5 separate regions of the Homo sapiens genome follow, and regions 2, 3, 4 and 5 are each linked to region 1. The links are contacts of gene promoters, found by promoter capture Hi-C in blood cells and fetal thymus (Javierre and others, 2016). All regions are on one chromosome and are shown on one strand. The core of a region is centred on a gene start or on the middle of the fragment in contact, and the rest is flanking DNA. Distances in the headings are between cores, read along the strand shown. Region 1 holds the start of MCM6 (minichromosome maintenance complex component 6). Region 2 overlaps CCNT2 (cyclin T2). Region 3 overlaps MAP3K19 (mitogen-activated protein kinase kinase kinase 19). Region 4 has its middle 310 kb from the start of CXCR4. Region 5 has its middle 290 kb from the start of CXCR4.

Region 1 (3,670 bases), core at 349-2,848:
AAAAAGTAAGGAAATTCTGACACATGCTACCTCGCAGAGGAACCTTGTAGACATTATGTTACACAAGCCAGACACAAAAGGACAAATACTACACGCTTCCACTTATATGAGGTACCTAGAGTGGTCAAACTCATAATGAAAGGAAGCAGAGTGGTGGGTGACGGTGGCTGAGGGAGAGGGTAACGGAGGAGAGTTCGTGTTTAATGGGCACAGAATGTCAGTTTGGAAGATGAAAAGAGTTTGGAGCCGGACACGGTGGCTCACGCCTGTAATCACTTTGGGAAGCCCAGGCGGGGGGATCACCTGAGGTCGGGAGTTCAAGACCAGCCTGACCAACATGGAGAAACCCCATCTCTACTAAAATACCAAATTAGCCGGGCGTGGTGGCGCATGCCTGTAATTCCAGCTAGTAGGGAGGCTGAGGCAGGAGAATAGCTTGAACCCGGGAGACGGAGGTTGCGGTGAGCTGAGATGGTGACACTGCACTCCGGCCTGGGCAACAAGGGCTAAATTACGCCTCAAAAAAAAAAAAGTTTGGAGATGGGAGAGTGGTGACGGCTGCACAACGAGGTGAATGCACTTAGTGCCACTGGACTCTACACTTAAAAATGGCTAAAATGGTCAACTTTGTTATGTATATTTTACTAAAAAAGAACTTCAAAAGCCATTCCAAACTGCTGACCCTTCATCCTGGAGGCCGTGGTGTATCTGCTCCAGGAAAAATAACCGGTGGGTGAGGCAAGCCAGGGAGGAGGTTGGGGTTATGAAGCTAGGAGCCCAGAGGCACAGAAAAAAAGAAGAGTAGAGAAAGGAAAGGAAGGCCAGAGGGAAAGGGGAGCAAGGGACCCAGAAGAAGGGATATGGTGAGCTACTCTCTGCAGGGCAGGGCTCCGCCCCCCAGCAGCTTTCAAACCACAGTTGACGCAGAAACTTTCATCAGCACAAGAGGCGAGGGTGGCCCGTGCCCTGCGAACCCCCAGCACCATGCTCCCGGCTGCGTGGCCCAGCAGGGCACCGACGAGATTCAATGGCACTTCGGCCTCCCACTCGACCTGGCCGCACCCAGCGGCCCAGTTACTATACTCAGCGAGCCCAGGTTTCCGCGCCGGTCACCGAGGGCTGTGCAAATACCAGGCTCGCGGGGTGGTGAGCATCAAGTGACAGAAGCAAAGCGCTGAGCACTGGGCACGAGCGTCTTAGGGCTCGAGATGGGTTTTACTCCAGAAAAACCCAGCCTGTCCCAGGCTCCTCGCGGCCGCCGGGCTCGGAGCCTAAAGTTGGGGGGCGGGCGGGGAGGCGCTTCCCGGACGCGCGACCCCCAGGTTCCGGAACACCCGCCGCCCACACGGCACCGCCTGGCCCAGACGCCGCAGGCTCCGGAGGCGGGCGAGGCCCGGGGCGCTCGCCGACTTACTCCTCCAAGAAGTCCAGGAACAGTTTCTGGCACTTCTCGGCCACCTCGTCGCGGACCTCCAGGTGCTGGCTGCCGGCGCCCGGCTCCGCTGCCGCCGCGAGGTCCATATTTGCTTAGTGCCGAGGATTCGCCTGCGCCACGCTCGACCGCCACAAGTCGCTTTTTTCCAGACGCTGCAGCTTTGCGCGCGCCGCCGCCGCTTCCGCCCCGCCCCCTCTTCCGACCTGCACGGCCGGAACCAATCGTGACACAGGAGCTGGAGATTTCGCGCCAAACCTGACCAATGAACGGCGCCTCTCCAAGAGCCCCAGCCCACGGAAAGGGATTTCGCGCCAAATGCAAAGCCCTTCTGGAGAAAGCCCATCTGCCTTTGCGCCTGCGCAGTGTAGCCGTGGCCCGCGGGTATTTTTGGCTGCTGGAACAAGTTCGAATCTGAGGGTTTTGTCCGAGTGGTTTTTCAAATGTTCTTTAAATCATTCCACTGATATTAATTGAACGATCGGAGTAAGACTCTATGGAAGAGAAAAATGAGTAAGCCGCTTCTGCTGTCTAGTTAGAGGAAATAATGGAAACCACAGTATAAAACCCTGTAAAAGAGTCAAAGAGATGTCTAAACCTTGCATGGGTAAGGTGGCACAATTATTGTGGTGGTGCTGACCGAGGAAAATCAGCGAAATATTTGACATTGGCCGGGCGCGGTGGCTCACAACCTGTAATCCTAGCACTTTGGGAGGCCGAGGCGTGTGGATCACCTGAGGTCAGGAGTTCGAGACCACCCTGGCCAACATGCAGAAACCCCATCTCCCCTAAAAATACAAAAATTAGTCGGGCGTGGTGGTGCACGCCTGTAATCCCAGCTACTCGGGTGGCCGAGGCAGGAGAATCGCTTGAACCTGGGAGGAGGAGGTTGCAGTGGGCCGAGATCGTGTCACTGCACTCCAGCCTGGGCAACACAGTGTGACTCCGTCTCAAAAAAAAAAAAAAAAAAAAGAAAGAAAAAGAAAAAGAAAGAAATATTTGACACTTTGATTAATCTTTTTTTCTTTTTCTTTTCTTTTTTTTTTCAGATGAAGTCTCACCCAGTCGCTCAGGCTCGAGAGCAGTGGCGCGATCTCGGGTCACTGCAACCTCCAGCTCCCGGGTCCAGGGGATTCTCCTGCCTCAGCCTCCTGAATAGCTGGGATTGTAGGCGCCCGCTACCATGCCCAGCCAATTTTTGTATTTTTAGTAGAGACAGGGTTTTCGCCATGTTGGCCAGGCTGCTCTCAAACTCCTGACCTCAGGTGATCCGTCTGCCTCGACCTCCCAAAGCGCTGGGATTACGGCCGTGAGCCACAGCGCCCGGCCTTAATACCCTTCTTAAAATGCACTATTGGCTTGAGTTATCCTTATGTTTTTTTCCCCCATCTTTCCCTAACCATTTCACTTGGTTTTTCTGCCATCTCTTTGGCCATTCCTGATTAGCATCCTTTGTAGGCGCCTCTCCTTCAGTGAGTCTTTTAAATGTTCTGGTTCCAGAGCCTTCTTTTCCCGTAAAGTCGCTCTCTTGGGCGACCCTTTACACTCCCTTGGCGTTAATTAACATCTGGGTACTGATGATATCTATATGTGTATTTCACCAACCAGTACCTTTTTTTGGCCTCCAAGACATTAAGAGAAACGGGGACCACTTCCATTTTTTGAGGCTTGTTGCATATTAAAAATATTTTTTCTTTCTTTTCTTTTTTTGAGACGAGGTCTTACTATGTTGTGCAGGCTGACCTTGAACACCTGGTCTCCAGCAATCTGCCTGCATCCGCCTCCCGAGTAGCTGGGATTTCCTGCCACCACCAAATCCAACTTATTGAAAAATTTTTTCTTTTTCTTTTTTTTCTTTCTTTTCTTTCTTTCTTTCTTTCTTTTTTTTTTGGAGACAGAGTCTCGCTCTGTCATTAGGCTGGAGTGCAGTGGCAGGATCTCGGATCACTGCAGCCTCTGCCTCCCAGGTTCAAGCAATTCTTCTGCCTCAGCCTCCTGAGTAGCTGGGACTACAGGCGCACACCGCCACGCCCGGCTGATTTTTTTTGTTTTTGTTTTTTTGTTTTTGTATGTTAGTATAGACGGGGTTTCACCATGTTGCCCAGGCTGGTCTCAAACTCCTGAGCTCAGGCAATTCGCCCACCTCGGCCTCCCAAAGTGCTAGGATTACAGGCGTGAGCTACCGCGCCCGGCCTGAAAAGATTTTAAAATGCCAAACAGAGTGGACAGAAGCTCAAG
Region 2 (3,670 bases), core at 476-2,975, 940 kb before region 1:
GCTACTTGGGAGGCTGAGGCAGGAGAATCGCTTGAACCCAGGAGGCAGAGGTTGCGGTGAGCTGAGATCGTGCCATTGCACTCTAGCCTAGGCAACAAGAGTGAAACACCGTCTCAAAAAAAAAATTTTTTTTTCTAGCATCCTGAGTTACTTAATCAGGAACCTTTACCCATTGAATGACTAACAGATTATATTAATTCAAAGTCCCGATTAATTTAAGCTTCAATGGAACTATATCTGATTTTATTAATGGCAAGTTTTATCATAATGTTGGCTTTAAGGGAGTAAACTGTTAATGTAGCCATTAAATAATAGGTTGTCATTATTTAAAGATAATTCCTACAGTTTATATTAACTGTACAAATTCAGAACTATTTCTTGGGGTACTGTTTAAATAATAGAAATTGACTGTTTTAAAAATCAGCTCAATGACCTTTCAAAGTAGAGCATAAATAAAATAAAAGGTACTTTTACTCTCTGGCTTTAGAAATATGTCCTTACAAAAATGAATATAGGTATATTCATATCAGTAATATAGTATTTCCTTATCACTTTGGTCAATTGTCATGATTTCAGAATAGGACAGCAGTAATTTTTCATATCCTTTATTTCCAGAGTAACTGTAATAGAGGGATAATTTCTTGAAATTGAATAAGGAGGTTCTCTGGTATTTATGTCCCCGTGGGTATGAGATACATTATTTTGGTATGTTTGGTCATTTCTAAGGTGGCAGGGAAGTTAATTCTAAAATTTACTCAGTGACTTACTGTGACTTTTGAGGAATTACCACATGAAATGTCCTAGAGTGAGTTTGTAAGCCAGGTTTGGGTTAAAGGCAGGTTTGAGTTGGATGTTTTTAATTGACTTGGTGCTTCCTGTCTTTAATATCTCTTGAAGCACCAGTGCCTAGGTTGTTTCACTTTACAGACTGTGCACATCTCCTTATTTCAATTAACTTACCCTCTTTCATATTGGTTAGGTTTTTGTTTTCTGGTGTTTGTTTCCTGTTACAGAAAGTAATTCAGTTTAGGCTTGCCACAGAATACAGGCTTTCTCTGTCACCCTCAGTTTATTTTCTCCATATTTTCAAACTACTGTGGTTCTTTTGTAATCAACCTGTAATTCTCACAAGATGTAACAGTCATGCAGTCTAGTAATGTTATTTTTATTTTAATCAATTTGATAATATTTTTATCTGACAGGCTTACCTTCAACAGACTCAAGAACTGGTTATACTTGAAACCATAATGCTACAAACTCTAGGTACGTACTTACATCAGATAATGGCTTTTTGTGTGTATTTCACTAAAGCATTCTAAATAAGTGAAAAGATTTCTGAAATAATTGTATTATTGAAGAAAGTTATTTTAAAACAGGTTTTAGACAGAATAAGGTTGCCTGGTTATAAGGAAATTACTTTTCTAGAATTTAATTTCATTTGGCATAATTAAATTGAATGGTAAACGTACCCTTCAGTATGATTTCTTAGGTTTTCAGGTAGTTGAAGTACTGTGCTTCACTCTGGATTTGCACTGGAGAGTAAAATGGTCCTTTAGGGTTGTTTTATATGATTATGATGTATACAAACCTACACAGCAATCCTTATTCTCCTCGAGCTGCCAGTCAGTATTTTATGAGTATATCACCTTTTTTATTTTATTTATTTATTTATTTATTTATTTTTAAGACGGAGTCTCGCTCTGTCGCCCAGGCTGGAGTGCAGTGGTGCCATCTCGGCTCACTGCAACCTCTGCCTCCTGGGTTCAAGCAATTCTCCTGCCTCAGCCTCCCGAGTAGCTGGGACTACAGGTGCATACTGCCACACCTGGTTATTTTTTTGTAATTTAGTAGAGACGGGGTTTCACCGTGTTGCCCAGGCTGGACATGAACTCCTGAGCTCAGGGAATCTGCCCACTTTGGCCTCCCAAAGTGCTGGGATTACAGGTGTGCGTCACCACGCCCGGCCTATCATATGATTTTTAATGTGACATAGTAATTATTTAAATGTTGGTCATCCTTTTCTAAAGGTTATATCTTTGTATGCAAGTTCATTTACTGTCACCATTCACCTTACTCAATTTACTGAAATTGAGGCCTAAGAAAGTGATGGCTTATCTAAAGTCATATGTTAGTTCTGGAAGAACCTACTAGGATGTGGTAGGAAGAACATGGGCTTTGGGGAGATCCAAGTTAAAATCTGTAGGCCTCTGACTTGCTTTGTAAACTTGGGCAAAAGTTCCTTTACCTGTTGTACCTCCATTCTGTAGAGGTGGAATAGTATCTGAGTCATATCGTGAATTTGTCATTTTTTTAATTTCATTACTCCATTCCCAGATGTTGAATAGAAGTGCGATAAATCAGTCACAATTTCCCATTGTGACAGACTCTTCGTTACAAAACTAGTTTGTGTGAAATACATATGCAGTTGACCCTCAAACAGCACGGGTTTGAACTCCATGGGTCTACATGGATTTTTTTCAATAAATAATATTGGAAAATTGGGAATTTGCAACAATTTGAAAAAACTTGTAGGTGAGCTGTAGCCTAGAAATATTGAAAAAATTGGATATGTCATGAATGCATAAACTATATATAGATATTAGTCTATTTTATCATTTACTGCCATAAAATATACATAAATCTATTTTTAAAAGATAAAAATTTTAAAAAGTTAGGCACACAAACAGACAATATGTGGCTCTATTCGCAGTTAAGAGAAAATGTAAATAAACAAATGTAAAGGTACATAAAATTAATTTTAATAATACGTAACTGTACTGCTGTGATAATTTTGTAGCCACCTCCTGTTGCTATTGCAGTGAGCTCACATGTTATGAGTATCCACGTAAAATGCTGTGTGACACCTGTCATCTCTGAACAGTTTGTCTCTCCAGTAAATTACATATTGCGGTAAAAGAGGTTCTGGCATATTTTTACCGTATTTAGTGCGATACTGGAAACTTGGATTAATACCATGGGACCCATACAAAGTGCCTCTAGTGATGCCAGAAGTGCTCCCAAGAAGCAGATGAAAGTTGTGATGTTACAAAAAAAAGTTGAATTGTTTGATATGTACTGTAGATTGAGGTCTGTAGCTACAGTTGCCCATTTCAAGATAAATGAATCCAGTGTAAGGTTCAGTGTGAAAGAAGAAAAAGACATTTGTGAAGTCATCGCTGCAGCTATACCAGCAGGCACAAAAACCTTGCACTTTATCTCATATTGAAAATGAAGCTTTTATGTGAATGCAGGATTGCTGTAAGAAAGGCATACCTATGGACTCTAATATGATTGGAGAGAAGCTTAAAGCAAAGGGAAGGTGAAGGATCTAAAGCCAGAGAATTTAATGCCAGCGAAAGACAGAAATTGTGGTGTATTTCTGTAAAGTTACACCAGGTGTTGCCTGCCTCTCCTGCCTCCTCTTTTGTGTCTTCCAACCTGAGACAGTAAGACCAACCCCTCTTCCTCAGCCTACTCTGTATGGAGACCTTTATGATGATCCACTTCCACTTAATACTAGTAAATACATTTTCTCTTCCTTATGATTTTCTTAATAGTTTCTTTAGCTTACTGTGTTGTAAAAATACAGTATATGATACATATACAAAATATGTGTTGATTAACTGTTTATGTTACCAGTAAGGCTTCAGCGGTAAGCAGGTTCTGATCA
Region 3 (3,670 bases), core at 535-3,034, 880 kb before region 1:
CCTAGCACTTTGGGAGGCTAAGGGGGAGTATTGCTTGAGGCCAGGAGTTCAAGACCAACGTGGCCAACATAGCGAGACCCTGTCTCTAAACAAAACAAAACAGAACACCCAGCACTTTGGGAGGCCGAGGCGGGCGGATCACGAGGTCAGGAGATCGAGACCATCCTGGCTAACATGGAGAAACCCCGTCTCTACTAAAAATACAAAAAATTAGCCGGGCGTGGTGGCGGGTGCGTGTAGTCCCAGCTACTCGGGAGGCTGAGGCAGGAGAATGGCGTGAACCCGGGAGGCGGAGCTTGCAGTGAGCCGAGATTGCACCACTGCACTCTAGCCTGGGTGACAGAGTGAGACTCTGTCTCAAAAAACAAAACAAAACAAAACAAAACAAAACAAAACAACCGGTAGGCTATTAGTAGCTAAGTTTTGGGGGAATCAAAGCTTATGTGTGGATTTTTGACTGTGTTGGGGACATCAGTGACCCTACCCCCTGCATTGTTGAAGGGTCAAGTGTAATTGCTGAGGATTTGGTTCTAAATTAGTGAATAGAGTTGTTTGGTTTTAATTCTCAAGTCAAAAATGCTAGCACTAATCTTACCTTGATGCTTCGGCCACTGTACTTCATATGAGAGGTCGAAAACTCTACAACAAGAAAAACAATAACTGGATATTCTTAGTAGTAGAAAGAAAACAGTCTCAAGCCAGAGTCTGGGGATGGAGTAATACAGATGCTAAGGGGTCTGAGGAAAAGTTGTAGAAATTGGAGGTTTCCCCTGTGGAATTCACACAGAGGTGGAATCATCACACAAAACTTCAGGCTGCTGCCACTAGCAGGGGTTGCTGTTTTATATTTATATCTCTATTCTGACAGAAAACCTGAGATCTCTGGACCAGAGAGCAGACCATTTATCACTCACAGAACATTGTAATGCCAGTTCCCCACAACCCAGTTCCTCACAGGGCAACGTGATGAGAGCCGGGTGTTGACCTGCACAGCTGGCAGAGCTGCATCACAGGAGGGAGCTCTGGAATGATGAGACTCAGGTGGTATATTGGGTGGTGGCACTTTAGCCCATCTTTCCCTCCAGAGAAGGAGAGAGCACTTTACTATGAATTGTAAGCAAATGCCTCCAGGAGAAAGATGACTCTATGTTTTATTACCCTAGAATATAAGCAAACAGCTTTTGGGAAAATCAGCCTCTAAATTTCTCTGGAGCAATACACTAACTTCGGAGGCGTTTCTGACATTCAGTCATCTTTTAACTTAGTTTCCTAGTGTTTTTTGCTTAGAAAGCCTGAACTGTGCAGAAATGTGAAAATATTCTTGTATAAGTGTCTCCCAACAGTTGTTTAAACTAGATCGACCATAAACTCTGAAAGGTGAGTGTGAGGAAGACTCACCTAGGGAACGAGATGGGACTTACTAGGTAGTATAAAACTTACAAGTTGTTCTCTTCTTACCAAAAAGTCAGAATGATCCCCAAAACCCCATGAACCACCACCACCACCACTTCTGCATAGTTTGGACTTTCTAAAGCTGAAGCCAAAAGCTCCAGTGTCTCCAGGGTCAAAACAGTTCACAGAAATGGATGATGTGGGACAGGAAGACACAGCAGTAAATCGAGATCATATGCCCAACTAAAGGGGCATCATTACCCAGCTCGCAGTGATGTTATCCAACCCAGATAGATAGTCCAGCCCTGCTACATCTTCCAAAAGAAGCCAGAGAGCTGCAGATTTTTTTTTTTTGAGACAGGGTCTCGCTCTGTCGCCCAGGCTGGAGTATAGTGGCATGATCTCAGCTCGCTGCAACCTCCACCTCCTGGGTTCAAGCAATTCTCCTGCCTCAGCCTCCCGAGAAGCTGGGATTACAGGCACCTGCCATCATGCCCGGCTAATTTTTTGTGTATTTTTTATTTTTTAGTAGACACGGGGTTTCACTATGTTGGCTAGGCTGGTCTCGAACACTTGACCTCGTGATCCACCGGCCTCGGCCTCCCAAAGTGCTGGGATTACAGGTGTGAGCCACCGCGCCCAACCCAAGCTGCAGGTTTTATGTGAAATCTCCTTCCCCCACCCTTGCTTATTTATTTAAAATTTTTATATTTTTAATTTTTTGTATAGACAGGGTCTTACTGTATTGCCCAGGCTGGTCTCAAACTCCTAGGCTCAAACAATCCTCCCTTCTTGGCTTCCCAAAGTTCTGGGATTCCAGGTGTGAGCCACTGGGCCTGGCCTCTCCTCCCTTGTTTTTCAATGTTGTGAGGGTCAAACAAATGTCTGTAGGTCCATTTCAGCCTCAGGCTGTCATTCTGAAGTTTCACACGGAGAGAAAAAGACTTCTAAGATTTAACACAGTAGAAAAGCCAATCCCAGGTGAAAAACAAGTCACCTAAGAAGAGGACCCCAACAGGCAACAGGAGGGGGCACAGGCATTCCCCTTGGACACAGCTGGCCATGGCACCTCCCCTTCATTCTTAATGCATTTACTCAACAATTATTTACTGAGTGCCTGCTGAGTGGCCAACACTGTCCCAGAAGATGGCAATTTATAGTTGTGGGCAGGAAAGACAGATCTTTGCTCTTTGCTCCCAGAGGTTGCATTCTAGAGGTTGAGGTTTTCTATTGAAAAGATGTTAGAAGTTAATCTAGAAATACAACTGAATATAATTTATAGTTGGGTACATAATGGATAGCATCCTGAATTTTTTAAAAAAACGCTTTCAAGTATTCTTATAAATATTTGAATATGTATTATCCAGTATTGGTCAGGAATTATGTGGGGTAAAGACTTTTGGTGGGAATGTAGAGGCAAGATCTTTCTGGTAGGTAATTTGGTAACATGTGTCAAAGCCTTTTAAAAATGTGTAGAGACCACTCTGAGCAACATAGCGAGACCCCATCTCTACAAAAAATGTTAAAAGTAGCCAGGTGTGGTGCCATGCACCTGTACTCCCAGCTACTCAGGAGGCTGTGGTGGAGGATCACTTAAGCCTGGAATATTGAGGCTGCAGCGAGCCATGTTTGCACCACTGCACTCCAGCATGGGCAACAGAGCGAGACCCTATCTCCAAAAAAGTAAATAAAATAAAATAAGTACAGAGTTCCAATTAAAAATGGCAGATTGAATGTACAAGCTTTTCTCCAATCCCTCCACAAATCACACTAAAATCACAGTAAAAGAATTAAAAAACATGTAAATAAGGACAAAAAATAAAAACACCCAAATGATAAAACAACAGATGAGCAATATCAACATTTTGGACAGAGAAAACTATATGGACGAATAATAACTGATTGAGTTGTCAGCTTTCTGTGTTCTGCCCAATGCTTGCAAGGGGACAGCCCAACCAGAAATAAGAATTTCAGAAAGGAATGGGAACTGAAGGTACCTCTGAAGACAGGGATGCAGGCAAGACTGAAACGAGAGGGTGCTCATAAGTCTGTGCTGGAATAAGTACTGGATTCCCTGCCCTGTCCCCTATGAGGAGTTACTCTTCTCCTTTCCTGGCAGTTGGCTGGAAGTTTACTCCCTGGAGGGCTTGAAACAAAGATGCTAAGGAGCTGGGTATGGCTGGGAGCAGAAATGGGGAGCTGGAGTGAAAATATGAGGACAAAGAAGAGTCTACACACTGAAATATGAACCCCATTCAGTGCCAAGAATGTTGCCTCC
Region 4 (3,670 bases), core at 664-3,163, 550 kb after region 1:
CCGAATCAGTATTTCCACATCAAACAATGGTCTGAAACTATGTAGTGGTTGCCTTTCTACAGTGTATAGACTGCAGTCCCCACCACACCCTATTGCACACCCAACTCTACCTGCTTCCCTTGTTGACTTTTAGTCCTTGCTTCTGTGCGGAGCAGCTGCACACAGTGGGTCCTTAATACCTGTTGTTTCCCTTCACTTCTTGAGGGCCCAGATGGCCTCACAGGTGGCTTAGAAGAATAAAGGAGCCATAGGTGTAGTCAGGATTCCATTTACTGGGTCTTCTCTTTCACTTCAGGGGTCTTTTCACCTTTGCAGTGAACTTCTGGCCACACAGCTAGGTGTTTGGTGAATGTCAGGGAGGCTTGCTGAAGTTACAGTTTGTAGGGCATTTTTTGTCAGCCATGCTTGGCTCACTTGAGAGAACCACATGCAAATCCCTCTCCAAAGCACCATTTCCCCATGAATAATAGAAGACTGTTTTTGGGAGGATGGAGACCCTGTAGTTCTGTAATAATAGCATTTTCATGAAGGAAAATCACAGCCTCACCATGAGCACAGCTGAGAACATGGAACCTATTATTGAGACATTCTGGTTAAAATAAAGCATTATCCCATAAGATGGGTCTGCCTGTGGGAGTCTTTGGAAAACCAGGTGAGAGGGATTTGCAGGTCCTGCTGGAAATGAGTTGGTAAAAAAACATCCTTCCATCCAAGGATGATTAAACTCAATCATGAGGCTGCTAGGAAGCCCTGGTCTCACCTTCCTAGTGGGAGGCAAAAGTGGATAATTCACTGTCACAAAAGAAAGAGAGGAGTGAGAATGGGGTGAGGGTGGTAAAGTAGAAGAGGGAGGGAGGAAAGATTGCTTCATTGTGGAGTCCAGGCTCACTGGAAGTGTCAGGGGGAATAGCTACAATCAAGGGGTCCTTCTATGGGCTTGAGGGTGGTGCCATTTGTAGAGGACAGTGGGTTGATGTGGTTGTGCCATTGAATGTGGACTGTACCCCGAGTCAGAAACCAAGAGATGGGGAGACAGCTGCTGACAGAGGAGGCTGGGACCAAAGGACTTAGAGGGGAGACAAGCGAGCCCTTCATCCTCAGACAACGCGGGAGGCAGGGGCTGCCCCTTGACCCTCCTCTTATTACTTAACTACCCTTTTGTCCCCGTTACATTAAAAGACATTTTTGTTCTGCAATTTACTGAAACTCAGAAGTATAGAGAATAGTGTTTCCTGCATATTAGAATCACTTGGGGATCTTTTAAAAATTCCAAAGCAGAGTCGCTTTCCCAGACCATGTAAATCACTGTCTCTGTGGGTGGAACACAGGTATCAGTGTCTTTGACACTCCCTGGCTGGTTTTGATGCACAGACAAATGTAGGAACCACTGGCATTCCTGCCTGCTCCTATCACTCAGCCTCCCTCATAACCAACATGTGGCCAGTCTCGCTGATCCCACAGCTTTTGTGTCCTAGATCCCTAATTTTGCCACTGCCCACCCTCCTTCCCAGATTCTTCAGAAACAATACTAGGCTTCATGTTATTTCATTCTTACATGCTTCAATATATAAAAACTTTTTAAAAAGTGTAAAACAACATTATCACTCCCCCCTCCACAAAATGAACAGTATTCCTTAGGATCATCTAATATTCTGCCTGTGATGCTCAGTTTAGCTTTTGAGACATTTATTCCTCTACTTTATCTTTGATTTTAATTTGATTCTGAAGGGATAAAGTTTCCCCCTTATTTGGGGGGTAGTGGTGTTGGTGAAAGGGACATACAACTAGCTCACCCCTGATAACCTGCCTCTTTTCCTTAGGGTGACTGGGGGTTCCAGTCTCTTCAGGGACAGTCCCGCCCACATTTGTGAGGACAGTCATTCAGGCACAAGGGGCTCGTACAGTCATTCAGCAATCGTTGATTGGGAGCCTCTATATATTCAGACACTGTGTTAGGTGCCAGGGGATTGAGTCTGTCTTTGTCATCATTCTGTTTAGCACGTTGTAGGGACTCAAGAAGTATTTAGTTCAGTGATAGAAGTATATGTTTTGTTCCCATAAAAGTATATGTTTTTGTTACCATTATGGTCAGCAGCCAATCCATTGCTGATGTATTGAGTCTGGGTATGCAATACCACTTTATAAATCACATATGCACAACACTTCTACATCATACCTCTTTACCTCTGGAACTTCTACATTGTACCTCTTTACCTGAGAATCTATGAACATTTTTTCTATTAAGTAATTTTCACGACAACTTCATATGTGGTTCCCAAATGAGGTGAAACAACATGGCAGAGTTAAATTGTAGTAGCAGGGAGTGGGGGCAGCCTGAATGGTTGAAATGCAAACATGCCGTCTAAGCCTTATTCCAGCCACGAGGCTTCAGCCGCCTCTTTCTATCAAATCCTTTCAAAGGAGTGCTAACATGCAACAGAAATTGATTGGTATGAAGCTGACCTTCTTTTATTTATTTTACCCAGCTTCTAAGTGTAACACTTACAAACAGAGCAATAAAATGTCCAGAAGGCAACCAATGTAACCAAAGGAGAAAGTGGGATCTCACTGACCCACATGTTTTTCTTTTAGACTATTTTTTCTGCTTAACACCCTACTATGTTTATTATTTAACAATTCAAAAAATATGGAAGGAAGAAATGAGGAAATGAAAATCACCCATATGTTACCATTTAGAGATAACGACCATTATCTGCCAGAGATAATTGACTGGGTGTATTTCCTTCTAGTCTTTCTTTTTTCCTATGCCTAAATATGGACTGTGTACTCTGATTTAATTAGAGTTAGTGTTATTTAAATATTCTTAGAACTTTGTGCTTTCATTAGCAATTTTTATTCCGTTTTCTCCTTCTTTTTCTCATTATAATCTTGTAAAGGATGTAAGGAAAATATTATTCTAATTTTACAAATGAGAAATCAAGGCCTGGAAATGTTAAGTGGTTTTTCATCAATGGCCCAGAACTCCTCACTTTTTTTTTTGAGACTGAGTCTCACTCTGTGCCCAGGCTGGAGTGCAGTGGTGCCATCTCAGCTCACCGCAACCTTGGCCTTCTGGGTTCAAGTGATTCTTCCGCCTCAGCCTCCCGAGTGGCTGGGACTACAGGCGTGCGCCACCACGCCTGGCTAACTTTTTTGTATTTTTAGTAGAGACAGGGTTTCGCCATGTTGGCCAGGCTGGTCTTGAACTCCTGACCTCAGGTGATCCACCCGCCTTGGCCTCCCAAAGTGCTGGGATTACAGGCATGAGCTACCGCGCCTGGCCAATTCCTCACTTTTAATCCAAAGGTCTTTTATCTTTTCCACCCCTCTTCCTGCCTCCACATTTAGACTGTTCCAGAAGGTATCTGACTTAAACCTTCTGGAGATGGGAACAGAAATAGCAGTAGGTCCCACTTCCATAAATAATCTTAGGGATTTCCGCACTGACGGTTCATGCCTCTTGTATCCAAGATGAAGCAGATTTAGAGAACACATCTGACTGGACTGTATATTTGCTGGGCAGAAATGAATACAGCCCATTGCAGTGATTGGTGGTTTGGATTCTCTAAACCATTTTTTCAACAATATAACCAGGATTTGACTTGAGTGGAATTGGAGAGGAAAAGGAGTTCAGAACTAATATTTTAGATGGATGGTATGTAAGTCTCAA
Region 5 (3,670 bases), core at 372-2,871, 530 kb after region 1:
CTATTTTGCCCCTGGGCAGTTACCTGGAACATTTCCCCTCCTGTTTAACTCCTTAAGTCTTGGCTAGGATTCTGCCTCCTTGGGGCAGCCTGCCTTAGCCCTCTAAGTGGGTGCTCCTTCCATGACTTTCGGCTGCTTTCTGTAATCTCCCCATCATTCCTCCTGGGTCTGTGATGATCTGATACTTCACTTCTTTCCCTTTACTCTGATCTCCTAATGGAAAAGACCCATGTCTCAGTTGTCTCTGGGCCTGGCACATAGCAGCTGTCCAGAAAATGCTGGCACATGAATAATGAAGGAACATTGCCATGGACCAGCTGTCTCCATCTGTTGCACCAATTGATTAGATGGTGGCTGTTGGCTCCTTGAGTCTCCTCTTTGTCATCAGGAAAACATTTTCTCCCAAGTCAGAGGCACAGCAATGCTTTCCTTCCTAGGAAGACCTTTCTTTATGCATCCCTGACTCATGCCTCCCAGGTCCTTGAGTCTCCCTTTTCCCCCACACCAGCAGCTGTGCCCTTCATAAGCTCCTTCCCTTGAGCCAATAAATGAGAAAGCCATGCTTCCATTTGCCATGTGACTTTCGAGGTTACCAGGCTGCACCCCCAACTCCCCACTTTACACCTCTTTCCTGAGCCTCTGTCTTCTGAGATGCCCGCTGTTCCACCAACTTCCCACAGCCTCACTTCTCCTCCTCCTAAGACTTTACTCCCTCTTTTGGTCAACTGCTTCCTGCCTTTGATTTCTGTGATCGCTCAGCATTTGGTTTTCCTCCCCTTCTATTTTCTCCCCAAGCTGGTACTTGTCCACCCACTTCTTAAATACAGATTTTTCCAAGTTTGTGTTTTTAACCCCCTTTTCCTCTCACTAGCAGCACATTCCCTCTCCAGGGAGTTCCCTGCAAGCCCTCAAAGTGACTATTGTCTCAGGGTGGCTGAAGACTTAGCAAATGCTGGTAGGTTTTCTGGGAGTTCAAACATAGGAGGTGTTCTCAGGCATCAGCTCAGCCTATGCCCCCAAGATCAGGATCTCCTCATCCCTTGGGGTGATAGATGGGGTCTCAGGTGTCTCTCAGGGCATCTGAATGGAGTGGGGTCCACGGACATGCCCCACAGTCCTGCTCTGAACCCATCCACCACTTGCCCTATTTCCTGGACATCCACATAGGAAGGCGGCTGTAGGACCACCACTGCCCACTGAGGATGAGGGCCTAGAAAGTGGCTGGAGGAGCCAGCGTTGCAGGTGTCCAGAGAGCAGGGTAGGTTGTGCAAGGCGTGGGCTGCTTAGTGTATCCTGGTGGGCATTAACTCCAAGTGTCTTCACATGCCCTGGATAAGTATTTTTGTAGCTTCTATACCTTTCAGTGGCATCTAAGCCAGCTCTGTGTAGGCTGACTATCCTAATAATTCATGTACATTTTGCAAATGTACATGTTATCATTATGTTGAAGTACTTGGGATGAGAAATTTGATTGAATTTGAAATCTGTTTACATGATCACAAAAATGTCAATATTCCTTATTTGTCAATGAAAGAAAAGAGTTATTGAATTATTTCATTGTAATTTCAGTGTAGATTTTTGAAGGTTATAAAAATGATTTAAAAATTTGTATTACCTCCTTGTGTGAGTAAAGTGTCTTGTTGAGGGAGACCACCAAGAATTTAAAGGGATAGCCATGAAGAAGTGTTGTTCAAAGATTACGTGGAACCATTTCCAACCTGTGTCCCCCAAGAGAATGAGCACCTTATACCTTGCAGAGAGGTTGTACAAAGTATGTTCACGGACACAAATTCAAGTTTATCCACTTCAATATTTGAAAATATTTTATTTGGAAATTTTATATAAATTCAAAATTTAATACCTTTCTGAAACTTTTACATTTTACTTTTCTTATAATGATATAAAGTATAATGATCTTTTTTTTTTTTTTTTTTTTTTCACCAAACTCTAAATTTCCTTTAGCTTACCCAGGGTATGATACCAATGCTATCTTTTTTTTTTTGTATGCTACAACATAAAAAATGTTTGGAAGTTTTTAAAAACAGCTTTATTGAGGTATCATTTACACAGTGTGCAGTTCACTCAAGTGTACAATTCAATGATTTTGAGTACATTTATTGAGTTGTACAACCATCGCCATCTAGTCTTAGAATGTTTTCCAGTAAAACAGGAAGCACATTTTGAAGAAGATGAGAAAGGATGAGAAGGCTTTCCCGGGAGGGCAGAGCTTTGGGTCCCAAGCAACCAAAGGGCGAGTATGAAGGTGCTGAAATCCTGAGTGGGATTAGTGCCCTCAGCCCAGGAAGACCAGGGAATAGGTTATTGCTCAGAGAAGGGGTTTGTGGCTTAGCACAAACATCACCTCCTCCAGGGAGGCTTTTCCAGCTCAGACAGCAGCCTACTGCTTCCTTTCCAGGGCCCCAGTGTCCACCTCTTTTGCCATGGCAATCATAGGGGGATTCTTGGTTTGTGGATTGCTGTTCCCACTAGACTATGAGTTCCCTCTTCTGTGTCCCCAGAACTTAGCTTCATCTCTGGTGGAGGGCAGAGCCTCAAGCAATGTGAACCCAATGAAGAAATTATTTCCAGCCCTGGATCGTTCTCTCCAAGGTTGCTGAAGCCAACCACGGGCACACATGGAGATTCCCAAGCAAGTCACAAGGACGGGAGCAGAATCAGACTCCCTCAGCACATGGCTGAGAGAGTGTGCAGGGGCAGGTGTGGGAGCCCTGAGCTCCTGTCCGGCTCTGCTTCTGTTCATCTGTGCCTCTGTGCCATCACTGCTCCACTCTGTCATTCCATCACCTCCGAAGGGGGTCTGCCAGATCATCTGCTGCTTCATAGTTGCCTTCCCACTAGAAAATCCCATGATTCCAATGGCACGTCCCCCAGCGTCTAGTGGAGCTGCCTGCATTTGAAAGGACAATTTCCAGGGAACAAGGGAGGCAACTATAGGGGCTCTAGCCCCCGGCACTGCATGGGGACTTGGTGTCATAGCATTTGCCAGCCTGCTGCAGCTACCCCCAGACACGAGGGAAGGCAGCAAGCAGACAAATTGCCTTCACAACCTCAAGAAGCGGGTATATTGGCACAACAGCTTCTGTGGTTGAAGAAAAAAATGAACAGGTTTAAAGCAAGCACATCAAGCTGTTTTTGAGTGCACTTAATGGCTGCCCAGACGTGCAAGCCCCTTTTAAAAGCAGAGTGACTTCACTAATAATAGAGCTCCGTTATTCTTTATCACTGACTCTCAACTCTGCTCCATATTTCCCCTTGGTGTTCTGCTCACTAACCTGTTTATCCTCTCTTAGAAACCTACACTTAAAGGCAACATAAAATACAGCATGACACCAAGGGAAAGCTTTCTGGTGGTGGCTTGAGCTAGCAAAATGATTGTGGCGGTGAGAGAATCCTCTCCAGGCAATTTTGTTTCCAGGGAACTCAAGCAGGTGTTGGGATTGGGAATGGGTGTTGCTTCTTGGTGCCCACTTGAAAAGATGTGAGGGCTCCTTGTCTCTCTTTGGGCTCCAGTGCTGAGCCCTGGTGTGGGGGCAGGAGGACAGCCCAAGGGGAGACAGTGACTCTTCCTCTCCCATTCCCTGGGTCTTTCAGGACCAGTCTGGGCACCCAGGGACAGATCAGACCTGCCTGTGGTTTTCCTGTCTAATCA

The links. Contacts are between HindIII fragments. The CHiCAGO score rates a contact against its expected background, and 5 or more counts as called.
Region 2: a contact is called between a fragment that was not itself captured here and the fragment with the promoter of MCM6 in region 1, in 5 of 17 cell types (erythroblasts, naive CD8 T cells, naive CD4 T cells and 2 more). The highest score is 9.9, in erythroblasts.
Region 3: a contact is called between a fragment that was not itself captured here and the fragment with the promoter of MCM6 in region 1, in 2 of 17 cell types (monocytes and erythroblasts). The highest score is 6.9, in monocytes.
Region 4: a contact is called between a fragment that was not itself captured here and the fragment with the promoter of MCM6 in region 1, in 3 of 17 cell types (monocytes, total B cells and total CD8 T cells). The highest score is 6.8, in monocytes.
Region 5: a fragment that was not itself captured here is called in contact with the fragment with the promoter of MCM6 in region 1 in 11 of 17 cell types (neutrophils, activated CD4 T cells, naive CD8 T cells and 8 more); the score reaches 11.6 in neutrophils.

Annotation. Positions count from the first base shown.
Region 1 is chr2:135,874,845-135,878,514 of GRCh38, forward strand. It overlaps MCM6 (minichromosome maintenance complex component 6), which reads right to left and starts at 1,599. Exons shown (of 17, transcript NM_005915.6): 1 at 1,415-1,599. The coding sequence starts at 1,521. RefSeq lists enhancers at 689-1,224, 994-1,123, 1,814-1,873 and a silencer at 1,194-1,353. The HindIII fragment of the contact is 12,304 bases long and covers 1-3,670 here.
Region 2 is chr2:134,937,800-134,941,469 of GRCh38, forward strand. CCNT2 (cyclin T2) reads left to right here. Exons shown (of 9, transcript NM_058241.3): 4 at 1,203-1,263. Among named protein-coding and RNA genes, the nearest start is that of CCNT2, 21 kb to the left of the region's middle. The HindIII fragment of the contact is 3,014 bases long and covers 219-3,232 here.
Region 3 is chr2:134,990,942-134,994,611 of GRCh38, forward strand. MAP3K19 (mitogen-activated protein kinase kinase kinase 19) reads right to left here. Exons shown (of 13, transcript NM_025052.5): 9 at 596-639. Among named protein-coding and RNA genes, the nearest start is that of MAP3K19, 55 kb to the right of the region's middle. The HindIII fragment of the contact is 2,696 bases long and covers 437-3,132 here.
Region 4 is chr2:136,424,939-136,428,608 of GRCh38, forward strand. No RefSeq gene overlaps it. Among named protein-coding and RNA genes, the nearest start is that of CXCR4, 310 kb to the left of the region's middle. The HindIII fragment of the contact is 8,463 bases long and covers 1-3,670 here.
Region 5 is chr2:136,404,039-136,407,708 of GRCh38, forward strand. No RefSeq gene overlaps it. Among named protein-coding and RNA genes, the nearest start is that of CXCR4, 290 kb to the left of the region's middle. The HindIII fragment of the contact is 3,476 bases long and covers 1-3,359 here.